Regions from separate parts of the Homo sapiens genome. Here region 1 is linked to region 2. Evidence: promoter capture Hi-C in 16 types of primary human blood cells and fetal thymus (Javierre and others, 2016). All regions are on one chromosome and are shown on one strand. Each heading gives the region's core, a stretch centred on a gene start or on the middle of the fragment in contact. The rest is flanking DNA. Distances are from core to core; before and after follow the strand shown.

The links. The method cuts DNA at HindIII sites, captures the fragments that hold promoters and counts their contacts. A CHiCAGO score of 5 or more calls a contact.
Region 1: a contact is called between a fragment that was not itself captured here and the fragment with the promoter of UBE2E2 in region 2, in 4 of 17 cell types (endothelial precursors, M2 macrophages, fetal thymus and 1 more). The highest score is 6.4, in endothelial precursors.

Annotation. Positions count from the first base shown.
Region 1 is chr3:23,721,298-23,727,423 of GRCh38, reverse strand. No RefSeq gene overlaps it. Among named protein-coding and RNA genes, the nearest start is that of UBE2E1, 82 kb to the left of the region's middle. The HindIII fragment of the contact is 5,611 bases long and covers 1-4,195 here.
Region 2 is chr3:23,200,495-23,206,795 of GRCh38, reverse strand. It overlaps UBE2E2 (ubiquitin conjugating enzyme E2 E2), which reads right to left and starts at 3,469. Exons shown (of 6, transcript NM_152653.4): 1 at 3,332-3,469. UBE2E2-DT (UBE2E2 divergent transcript) reads left to right here and starts at 3,803. Exons shown (of 2, transcript NR_136176.1): 1 at 3,803-3,932. RefSeq lists a silencer at 3,309-3,998 and enhancers at 4,349-4,408, 3,821-4,796. The HindIII fragment of the contact is 2,247 bases long and covers 1,921-4,167 here.

The DNA.
Region 1 (6,126 bases), core at 141-2,640, 520 kb before region 2:
CTTCCAGAGTTCCTGAAGACAGCATCAGACTGGCCAGGCCAAGGTCACTCCCATCAAGAAGGAGGATCTAATTTCTTGCATTTTACTTTGCACCAAAACCACACAGGAAGACAGATCCAGCTGCTAATAAGACTGAGATCTGATACTGAACAGAAGAAGGCAAAACCTCCACAAAGGGCCATCACAACACCTTTCCTCTGGTGGTTATGAGACATTGGGAAGTGCTTAACACAGTGTCTGGCAATAGTGAAGTTTCAATACATGCAAGGCACTATTTGTGGGTTAACAAGTTGTGGTGCGGTGTTTCATACAATGAAATTTTACTCAGCAATCAAAACAAAAATCAACTACTCATATAGAAACATGAATGATTTTCAAAAACATTATGTTGAATGAAAGAAACCGGAACCAAAGGAGTTTGGTGAGGCTGGGTGTGGTGGTGCATACCTGTAGTCTCAGGTACTCAGGAGGGCGGATCCCCTGAGCTAGGAGTTCAAGTCCAGTTTGGACAACATAGTGACACCCCCATCTTTTAAAAGAAAGAAAAAAAGAGTTTGTTGATTGCAAACTGCAATTTTACTTATATGAAATTCTAGGGAAGTTCTAGAAGTTCTGGAAAAAACCTGAGCAAGCCATGGCGACAGAATTGAGAACAGTGGGTACCTCTGGCTGCCTCAGGAGCAGACACACAAGTTCAGGAGAGATGCCTAAAGAGGGACATCAAGGTGCTTTCTGGGGTGATGGAGTATTCCCTATCTCTTTTTGGCAAGTGATCTATTACATACTCCTTAGCAGATTCTGGCTATCATGGCCACCATTCTGCTTCCATATCTTCCTTCCTTCTTTCCTTCCTTCCTTCTTTCCTCCCTCCCTTCCTCCTTCTTTTCTTTCTTTTTTCTTTCTTTCTTTCTTTCTTTCTTTCTTTCTTTCTTTCTTCCTTCCTTCCTTCCTTCCTTCCTTCCTTCCTTCCTTCCTTCCTTCCTTTCTTTCTTTCTGTCTTCCTTTCTCTTCTTTTCTTTTGTTTCTTTGACAGAGTCTTGCTCTGTCACCCAGGCTGGAGTGCAGTGCTGCAATCTCAGCTCACTGCAAGCTCTGCCTCCCGGGTTCAAGCAATTCTCCTGCCTCAGCCTTCTGAGTAGCTGGGATTACGGGCATGCACCACCATGCCCAACTAATTTTTGTATTTTTAGTAGAGATGGGGTTTCACCATGTTGGTCAGGCTGGTTGTGAACTCCTGACCTCGTGATTCACCCACCTCAGCCCCCCAGAGTGCTGGGATTACAGGCGTGAGCCACCGTGCCTGGCCGGGTCTTTCCTTTCCTTCTCTTTCCTTTCCCTTTCCCTTTCCCTTCCCTTCCTTTCCTTCCTTCCTCTCTCTCTTTCTCTCCCTCCCTCTCTCCCTCCCCTCCCTCCCTCCTCTCTCTCTCTTTATTTCTTTTTAAAACTTTTTTTCGAGAAGGAGTCTTGCTCTGTTGCCCAGGTTGGAGTGCAGTGGCGTGATCTCGGCTCACTGAAACCTCCGCCTCCCAGGTTCAAGCAATTCTCCTGCCTCAACCTCCCAAGTATCTGGGATAACAGGTGTGCACCACCACACCTGGCTAATTTTTGTATTTTTAGTAGAAATGGGGTTTCGCCATGTTGACCAGGCTGGTTTTGAACTCGTAACCTCGTGATTTGCCCACCTCGGCCTCCCAAAATGCTGGGATAACAGGTGTGAGCCACCATACCTGGCCTTTTTCTTTCTTTTTTTAGAGACAGGGTCCTGCTCTGTTGCCCAAGCTGGAGTGCAGTGTCACAATCAAGTTCATTGTAACCTCAAGCTCTTGGGCTCAAGTGATCCTCCCACCTCAACCTTCAGAGCAGCTAAAACTAAAGATGAACACCACCAGCAGGCTAATTTTTAAATGTTTTTGTAGAGACAGGGTCTCACTATGTTGCCCAGGCTTGTCTTCAAGGCCTGGCCTCAAGCAATCTTCCTGCCTCTGCCCTTCAAAGTGTTGGGTAACAGGCATGAGCCCCCAGCCTGGTCCTTGCTTACCTGTCTTGATTAAGGAGATGATTACTCAAGCATATATATCAAAAGCCATCAAAATATACATTCAAAAGCTATGCATTTTAGTATATGTAAATTATAACTCAATTAAACTTTTTTTTAAAATGTGATTTTTTCTTATCATCAACTGATGCACAGTGTCTTCCCACCAATATCATTATAATGAAAACATGTCTGTATAACAAATTGACTTCAGGCTCCACCTGACACCCACAGGTCTCGAACGTCATTTGAAACCACAAGTGAAAAGTTAGAAAAGTTTGAGGAGTTTGTTTCAATGGGAGCTGTGGTCTGAATGTCCCCCCCTGAAAAATGCGTATGTTGAAACCTATCCCCCAGTGCAGTAATATTAGAAAGTGGGGCCTTTAAGAGATGATTAGATCCCACAGGCAGAGTCCTTATGATGGGAGTAGTGCCCTCAACAGAGTGAGACCCCCTTCTTCCCCATGAGGACGCAGCAAGAAGGCGCCATCTATGAACAAGACACCCGAATCTGCCAGTGCCTTGATCTTGGACTCCCAGCCTCCAGAACTGTAAGCAATAAATATTGTTTATAAGCCACTCAGTTTATAGTATTTTTGTTATAGCCGCCCAAATGGATGAGGTTGATCCTTTCCCCCGAGAAACTGAGAACAGGCATATAGAACATATATATATATATATATATATATAAAATATATATAGCAAGTTGACATTGTGACACCCAAGTGTATGATTAGAGGACTCATCTTTTTGAACAAGAAATAGACGAGGCTGGGTATTGCTGAACTCCTATGGTTATCACAGTAGGAACACATAGTGGTCTGCTATAAACTGGAAGAAAGTAGTTTGAGAAACATGGTTCTAAGCTACCCTCTTAGCTTGAAAGCCACTCAGGAAAGAGCTTCCCATCACCCTGGCTCCACTGTTATGTCTACATCAGTGCAGCCCATATGAAGTGTGCTCAGTGGATCCTTGTGCATTTTTATTGATTTTGGGCCTGAGGCTTCTGGACAAATAAACACAGTTGTGAGAACTAGGCTATTCCAGTCCTTAGGATTGCCCTCTACCCAGAAAAAGCCTAAACAGAGCAGAAAAGCCTAGTTGGAGCAAGCATTCTCTTAAGGGCCTAGAAAAACTTGAGCCCCAGACATTGTTCCAAGGCTAGTCCTGCCTTCATGTCTTGCCAGATGCAGAGATGGTTAGTGGCTACTTCCAGTATCACTTCTCTACTTCTCCTTACTTCCTCTTTACTTGCTAGCCACATTGTGACCAAAAATAAAATATTAATCTCCCAGCCTCCCTTGCTGCTAGATATGACCATGTGACTTGTGGCCCAGAAAGCTGAATTCAGTGGGCCTTTCAGGAAGGCAGTCTAAAGAGAGCTAACTTAGCATGGAAGGCCTCTCTTTTTCTTTACTTTCCTTCTTTTTCTGGCTTATAACTCCAGAAGCCCATTTTGGACCATGAAGCAATCTGAAGGATGGAAGCCATATGCTAGAATGCAGCAGCAGAAAGACTGATGAAACCTAGGTCCCACCAACCCTGGATGCCTGCCTCCAAACTTACTTTCTTTTTCTTTTTTTTGAGACAGAGTCTCGCTCTTGTTGCCTAGGCTGGAGTGCAGTGGTGCGATCTTGGCTTACCACAACCTCCACCTCCCGGGTTCAAGCGATTCTCCTGCCTCAACCTCCCGAGTAGCTGGGATTACAGGCACATGCCACCACACTCAGCTAATTTTTGTATTTTTAGTAGAGAAAGGGTTTCCCCATGTTGGTCAGGTTGGTCTCGAACTCCCGACCTCAGGTGATCCGCCCACCTTGGCCTCCCAAAGTGCTGGGATTACAGGCTTGAGCCACCGCTCCCGGCATGCCTGCCTCGAAACTTTCTTTAGAGAAGGAAGAAAGAGGCTACTATTATTTTTGGTAATTCTTAGGTTTTCCTGTTTCATGCAGCCAGTTGATTCATAAGCCAAAGTTTGCCTTTTCTCCTTTGTTCACTGACAATAATCCATGAAGCAGCGAGGCCCTGTCCATCTGTCATCCTGGACATTGCTAAGGAAAGCAAACTGGTAGGACAGCAATCTGCTTACACAGTCTCTCAGGCAAATTTGCACTTACAAGAGGACCACCAGAAAAAGCACTGTTTCACCCAAAAGAAGCTTTGTGGTATTACACGGAAATAAAATTTGGGATCTTTCAATTTTTCTGTGTAGATCTAAATACATGTAGACTCTGAGAAATGTATGAAGTGCATCCTCCAGCCATTGGTAGCCACGAGTAGGGATTTTGTCACAGTTATGAGAGGAAAAATGAAAGTTAACCAGTTACTTTTAAGATTCAGACAAACGTGTTTGGAAGGCTGTAAATTAATGACTTGTTGGATGGAGACATTATGCAAGTTAATTTTCCAGTCTTCAGAAAACATTTTCAAAGGGAAATTATATTCTCCAACATATATTTGGAGAATCATTTGATATTTGTATCAAACATTTTTTTTTTTTTTTTTTTTTTTTTTTTTTTTTTTTTGAGACGGAGTCTCTCTCTGTCACCCAGGCTGGAGTGCAGTGGCGCGATCTCCGCTCACTGCAAGCTCCGCCTCCCGGGTTCACGGCATTCTCCCGCCTCAGCCTCCCGAGTAGCTGGGACTACAGGCGCCCGCCACCGCTCCCGGCTAATTTTTTGTATTTTTAGTAGAGAAGGGGTTTCACCGTGCTAGCCAGGATGGTCTCGATCTCCTGACCTCGTGATCCACCCACCTCGGCCTCCCAAAGTGCTGGGATTACAGGCGTGAGCCACTGCGCCCGGCCTTGTATCAAACATTTTAAAGAAATGTTGCTCTTCTCCAGAATAATTACATATAAGACTGAACTCTTCTCTGAAAACAACTGAACATTTTTCAGAGTTAATAAATAAATTGTTTCTGAATACAGAAGTCAACAGTTCTGAGATTTACAAATGATTAGATGAGTTTACTCACTGAGAAGTGTCACACAACTAGTATAACAAATGTCAACATTCCCCTAAACACTGTAATTTGTACACTGCATGTAGGCATAGCATCTAGAAACTCATTTTGAACACCTTGGGAAAATTAATGGAACATATTAACAATTGGAAAACAATGCTGCAGACTTCCCCAGCACCTCACCCTTTAATTTTTTTTTTTTTTTTTTTTGAGGCAGGGTCTCATTCTGTCTCCCAGGCTGGAGTACAATGGCGTGATCTCAGCTCACTGCAACCTGCAGCCTCCTAGGCTCAAGTGATTCTCCCACCTCAGCCTCTCAAGTAGCTGGCACGATGCCCAACTAATTTTTGTGTGTGTTTTTTTTTTTTTTGTAGAGACAGGGTTTCACCATGTTGACCAGAATAGTCTAAAACTCCTGAGCTCAGGTGATCTGCCTGCCTTGGCCTACCAAAGTGCTGGGATTACAGATGTGAGCCACTGCGCCTGGCCCTCACCCTTTAATTTAATGGGCCAATGTACAAATCCCTAGTCAGATGTGAAGTCCTTCCATTTGAAGAATGAGGGTTATCTTAAAGAAAGGAACAGGCTGGGTGCGGTGGCTCATGCCTGTAATCCCAGTACTTTGTGTGGCCGAGATGGGTGGATTACCTGAGGTCAGGAGTTTGAGACCAGCCTGGCCAACATGGTGAAACCCCGTGTCTACTAAAAATACAAAAATTAGCCGGGCGTGGTGGCACATGCCTGTAATCCCAGCTACTCAGGAGGCTGAGGCAGAAGAATTGCTTGAGCCCGGGAGATGGCCGTTGCAGTGAGCCAAGATTGTGCCACTGCACCCCAGCCTGGCCGACAGAGCAAGGCTCTGTACCCCCTGCAAAATAAATAAATAAATACAAATAAATAACAAGAAAGGAACAAAGAAAATAATTTTTGACAAAGTGCTGGGTAGAACCACTTGCAGCAACATTAATTTATTTACATTGAACTTTCCAAATGCATTTATGAGATATCTTTTGGTTGATGTGGTTTTCTCTTGAGCTTGAGATTCCTTATAGCCTATCTCCATTAGGAAAGAGGGAGTGGTATAACAAATTAAATGCCTCAAAGAAGCACTATGTATTCAATGACAG
Region 2 (6,301 bases), core at 2,220-4,719:
AAAATTCATCATCACTAAAGATTTAACTTGTAGCTTGCTCTAAGCCAAAGCAATGTTGTAACACCGATCTTTAATGGACTGAAATTTTTGTAAGACAAACCAAAAAGCACTGCAAAAGAATGGAAGCATCAGGAAGCACAGAGCCACAAAGAGTCAACAGAAAATAGTGAATCCTTTCACTGACACACCACACACACCACCACCAGCACCCCTTCAACCCCAACAGCTCCCCATGCCAAACAGAAACAGATCTGCCCCAACAGCTCTGAAACATACTAACGGAAAAGCTGACTACTTTTCTACCTATTCTGTAAATGAAGAGCACCAGTCTCCACAGCTGTGACATCTTTTATGAGCACTAAAGTCACTTAATAGAACACTGAAATTTTATATCAGTATGTTTCACATCTAGCTCTAAAAGTCGTAACATATTTCTTGCTTTTTTTCATTTTTATTTCACTCTAAATTCTCATTCTTGGATTTAATATTTTTTTTCACCTTCTTTCAGTTAAAATATATCAGAAGTTTAAAATCTTGTAAGTATGTACATAATGGCATATCAGATAGGGCGGCATGCATGAGAGTGAAAAAGAGAACAATCCTCAGGGAAAGGTGCTCAGATATAGCAAAATGCTGCCAGCAATACCTTAAGAAATGTGAAATGAGTGAGAAATCATTTTATACATTTTAAAACAGGAGCAATCCATTCCATGACAAATATATGGGTACCTCAATGAAATAATATTCTCTATACTGAGGATGCAGCTTCAGCGTAATAAACTATGATTTAATAAACTATGCTGAGAGTTTCAGTTGTGTATAACATTAGTTATAAAGCCACACATTCTTCTCAATATTCTTATTTATGTGCATTTACATACTATCGAATGCCATAGTTATATAATTACTTAAAAAGATTACTCAATGATGTGATCTGAGCCATAATCTGAAACTCAAATTTCTACTGCCGAATATTAGAGGAAGATTAAAATAAAAATTAGTCTCACCAGAGAACTAATAAAAATACTATTAGAAATTCCCCAACAGAGGTGTAATTTCTGGTTTCACATTAAGGAAAAGAATTATTCCCACTTTTGAGTTAAGACATATTTCATCCAAATGTTAACCTACAAATGATAAGTCCATCTGAGGCCATTGATAACCACTATAGGAACTTTTAGAAATAAAGTTTTCACATCTCTTTTTCAAATATCAATAATAAAAGGAATTTCTCCTGGGTTTGTTTTTTGAATGCTTGATTACAGAAAAAGTATAGAAAAAAATTATTGTACCACTCAGGTGCAACGAATTTTTATGAAGAAAAAGTAGTCTATGAATCAATTTAATTAGTCGTAAGTGTAAACTTGATGTCTTGTCTCTCTGAAGTACAAATGAATAAAAATTCCTGAATTAAAATCCTTTAAACATTATCTTCTAAATTAGCATTTTAAAATTAATTCCTAAATAGCTAATCTGATCCGATTATCTCATCTACAGGGAAGATAAACTTAAATCCCAGGGTTATAAACAAACAGCTACTCTCCAATGATACTTTCAAAGATATTGAGAGAGATAAATACGCTTACTTCATAACTCAAAGTAAAATTTAATTTTTAACCATAAAATAAGTAGTCCTTCCTAAAACTATATTAAGAGGCTTACATATTGTTACTTCTTCAACACAAACTGTCTAAGCTTGTATTAGCTATGTACCCTATGTTGTAATTACAGTCCTGGAAATTAGCAACATACAGTGAATGAAACTCACATGTTCCATAAAAATGAAATGATTTGGCTTGAAATATTACTGACTACATAAAGGCAACTATAGTCATTCCATAAATCCAGCCTACTACCCAGGTAAGCCTTATAACAGTATCTACTAGTATAAAACTGCAAAACCAAGTGTTCATTTAAGCTTTTATAACAGGAAAGCGTTTAATTCTGTCATATATGTCTTGCTGTCTTCCTACTCATGTTTCTAAACTTTTCTAAAATGTAAAATAAATATATAGTATATGCACACAGCAATATCCAGCTTTAAATTTAACTGCAAAGACATTTATGCAGAAAATAACAGTGGAACACCTGATTTGGGGGTAAAAGGTGCTGCAGGGGAAAGAGAATGGGGTATGGCATTATATGAAAACACTCTATTTCAGCGTCAGCCCACATACAGAATTCCAAAGAGCCAAGGAGCATCCAAATTGCCGTAGTAAAGGCAAATATTTAGATTCACAAAGTCCAGACTGAATTATCACATATCTAGAAACATACTTTTTAAAGAAATCAGGGATTAAAAACTAAGAAGAGCGTAAAATCCTTTAGAACCGCGAGATACTTTGAGGGTAAACCCTAGCACTTCCTTTCGTACTTTTAAATAAAAATATTTTAGTAGACTCTCAAGAATACACAATACAAAACGATGAATCTTGAAAACATGCAAATGGGTCTAACAGCCACCGAGCACAGGATGATGTCTTTCTAAAGCAGCCTTAATTTCCTTAAGGGAAGATGGATTGGACATTTCTGGTTGGTCGTGGGGGAAAAAAGCCACAAGAAGCCACGCTTTATCTTCATTAGAAATGGTAAAGGGCAAAAAGATCAAAACATTATGAGAGAGATCGGAGAAAAGAGGGGGAGAAGTGGGGTGGGCGGGAAGGGGGAGAGGACAGAGGGAATCCAGTTTCAAACCAGGCCAGTGGGGGCTGCAGAGAAGAGACCAGAGAAAAATGGGCTTCGGTTCCAAACTGTGACAAGCGCCAGGCATCACAAAAGACCAATACAACACACACCCCTCACCAGGACACACACAAATATACCCCACAAGGTCTTCTCCGGGCGGGCCACCGGGGTGCGGCGGCGAAGGAGCCAAACCCGGCACTCGCCAGGAGACACACCATGTGCAGCAATTATGCAATTAGGGAAAATAGCAAAAGATCAAGCCGGGCACTTTCCACCGTGACATTTATCCTGTACTTTTGAAAAGACTTAGTTCCAGGATGCGGCTAGGAGAAGGAAAGCGCTGGGAGGGTTGAGAAGGATGGGGAACTGAGAACGGAAGGGGGTAGAAGGAGGACAGGGAGAGAAGAGGCAGAAGGGGGGGATGGGAAGAAGGGGGAGGGGTAGAAAGGGCGAGAAACGGGGGCAGGAGGCTCGCGGGAGGGGGCGTAGGGAACCGGGCACGGGGAGCGAGGAAGGAGGGAACTAGGGCACGAGCGGTGTAAGCAGAGACCTGCGACGCGGAGGGGAGGTCGGGGGAGTGAGGAGGACGTCAGCGAGAGGGAGGACGCCCGAGGAGGGGAGGCACCGGCGCGGCCCGAGCGAATACCTGAGGGGGGGGTGTCCGTGCAGGTCGCAGGCTCGAGCCGAAGCCCTGGGAGAGAGCTGCCCAGGCGCGAGGGGGAGGGAGACTGGGGAGGCCCCAGGGACGGGATGTCCCCTGCGGACCGTCTAGTCACCGAAAGCCGGACCCACGCACCACGCACCCGACCACGCCTGTCCCCGCCGCGCTCGCGCCCGCCCGGACTCACCCTCAGCGCCGCCGCTGCCGCCGCCCCCGGCCGTTCCAGCTCCGGCTCCTGAGGCTGCTGCCCGCGGCTGTCGCTGTGGCTGCCCCTGAGTCCTGGAAAGTGAAGCCACCACCTCCGGGAGCCGCCGCCGCCCGGCCGTCCGCGCGCGCACCCGCGAGTGCGCGTGCCTGCGCGCCCGCCCGGGAGAGACCGCGAGAGCGCGAGCCCCACGTCGGCCATGCGGCGCCGCGCGCCTCCCTCCTCCCCCCGCCCCTCCTCCTCCGGCGCGCGGCCGCGAGGGGGCGGGGGCGGGAGCGCGCCCGGGCGGGCTGCCCCGCCGGTCGGGAGAGGGGGTGGGGAGGCGGCGAGGAAAAGTAAAGTGACAGCTGGGTCCCGCGCGCAGACTGGGCTCTGACGGGGGTGAGCGAGGGGCGTCCCACGGGGAAGGAACGACAAGGACGGGGAGAAGTGGGGGAAACCGAGGCTGACGGGGTGGCTTGAGGGGAGGGGACGCGAGGACCTTGCCGGGCACGCGCATTAAAGGGAAACGCCGGCTGGGGGTTAGGGGTTACCCCAAGACGGTGCAGGCAGTGGGACGAGGAGGCCTTTTACCCCCATCCACCGCAGCCCTTGACTTCACGCTCGCCTCGAAGCTTTCGCAAAGTAGATACGGGGACTGACCCTGTTGACACACTAACCCAAACTCGCAGACGCGTGGGGCTCGCATGTACCCAAGACAGGAAAACTTCACGTTGGCCTGGAAACTTCTTCCAGGCTAAGCCTGAGTCTTCACCAGACACTGCAGCACGAAGGCCCTTCTGCCTTTTGGCTCGCCCTGGCCCAGAATGCGCACCAGCCGGTAGAGAGGAGCTTCGGGCCGTTTAGCCCTGGGGTATTGAAGAGAGGGGTGGGGGTACAGGGTGCACCACTGTCAGAGTGAGTGGGAAGCTGCCTTCATGCCCAGTTGAAGGATATGGGAACAGTAGCAGTGCTGTAGGTGGCATGAGGGAACATTAGGTTCCGTTGTACTCCTCATCCCAAATAACCGTTTAAAAAAAAAAAAAAAACGTACCTGCTTTGCGAACTTAGCTTCCACGAAATTTCTCCCACTCCAACCTCCAGCCTCACTTACCAACGGAATGCTGGGTCGTTGGCAACGGGGTGTCCAGGGATGCAGCAAAATTAACTTCTATCTTTGTGGAGGAAAGGATTGGAAGATCTTTCACTGCTTAATTGCTGAAATTATGGTTGCTACAGTACTTCATTTGACTGTAGATGTTTTAACTGCTATTTACTAAGTTCAAAATGGGTTTAATACAAATCAGTTACCCTTTTCATTTATTCAAGGAATATTTATTGATACCAGGCACTGTCTAGGTGGTAGATATATGACATTGAATAAAAGAAAAAAATCCTTGTCCTCAGAACTTCCCTATGTCTGAACCTTCTCTGTTGTACACTCAGCATCACATTCGTCAGCAAATTCTGTTGACTCTGTTTTCACAAATATATGGTGAAAATGTCCACTCCGTCTCACTCCCCTCCCCACTGCTAATGTCCTGGTCTAAGGCATCATCTCTCAATAATTATCTCCTACCTGATCTTTCTACCTCCCACTCTCCGCCTCCTCCCTCCCCAACACCTACACACAGCCGACTGTCCTTTAAAACAAAGATTAGATTATGTCTCTCTTCTTCTCAAAAATTCCAGTGGCTTCCCATCATAGAGCAACAGCCAAAGTGCAAAATATGGATACATGGCCTGCATGATGTGCCCACCATTCCCAGCCAGGATTCCCCTGACCTCAAGCTGTACGATTTCACTCCATCCTCGTCTCCTTCCAGCCACACCGGCCTTGCAGTTATGGACACACCAAGCATTCCTCAGCCTCAAGACCTGTGTACTTACTATTTCCTATCTCTAGAACATTCTTTCCTCCCACTCCTCCCCCAGAACTTCCTATCCACATCCTCTGCTTTTTCTCCATGATCACCACCTGACATAATACATTTTTTTACTTATTTATTAGTTTCCCCCTTCTGCTTTCTTTTTCCTCCCTCTCCCAGCCCTCCCACGTAAAAGCACCTTGAGAAAAAGGATTTCGTCGTCTGGGGTTCAGTGCTGTATATATTCAATAGATAATGACCGAGTGAAAGAAATTGGTCTCTTTCAGTTGATGACACAATAGGTATTGTTTCTAATTTCTTCAATAATTAGTACTTACCGTGTTCTTAATTTGTGCTAGGCAGCATGCTAAGCACTTTAGTTATACTAGGTCACAACCACCACACAGGTTGGTTTTATCCAATCAGCCCCACTGTACAGATGAGAATACTGAGGTACGGAGGGATTAAGTCACTCACCTACAGTCACATAGCTAGTGAGGAGCAGAGCTGGGACTCGAAATCAGCAGTTTGGCTCTGGAGTCTGTGAACTTAAGGACACTTTACCATGAGTCTGGTGTTACAGACATAAATATTTATTTGATTTTCTCTATTTCTCTCTTCTGCGGTGCAAACTTGGTCTCCAAGACAAATAGCTCATCTTCCTTATATTTTCTGCTCTGGTCCATCAGTCTGTCGTCATGAACTCACTCCTTTCTTACATTTCTTATTTCTGATCATTAATTTAGAGCCTACGTTTTTTCCCCCTGCAACTGGCAAATTGGAATGTTTTTTGAAGGGTCCTTCTTAAAACGTTGTTACTGCCAACTTCGTGAGTAAGTAGAGCCACAGTTAGTTTTCCAGTTTGACTGGATGGGTGATAGAAAAGACCTCTCTCAGGGGAAC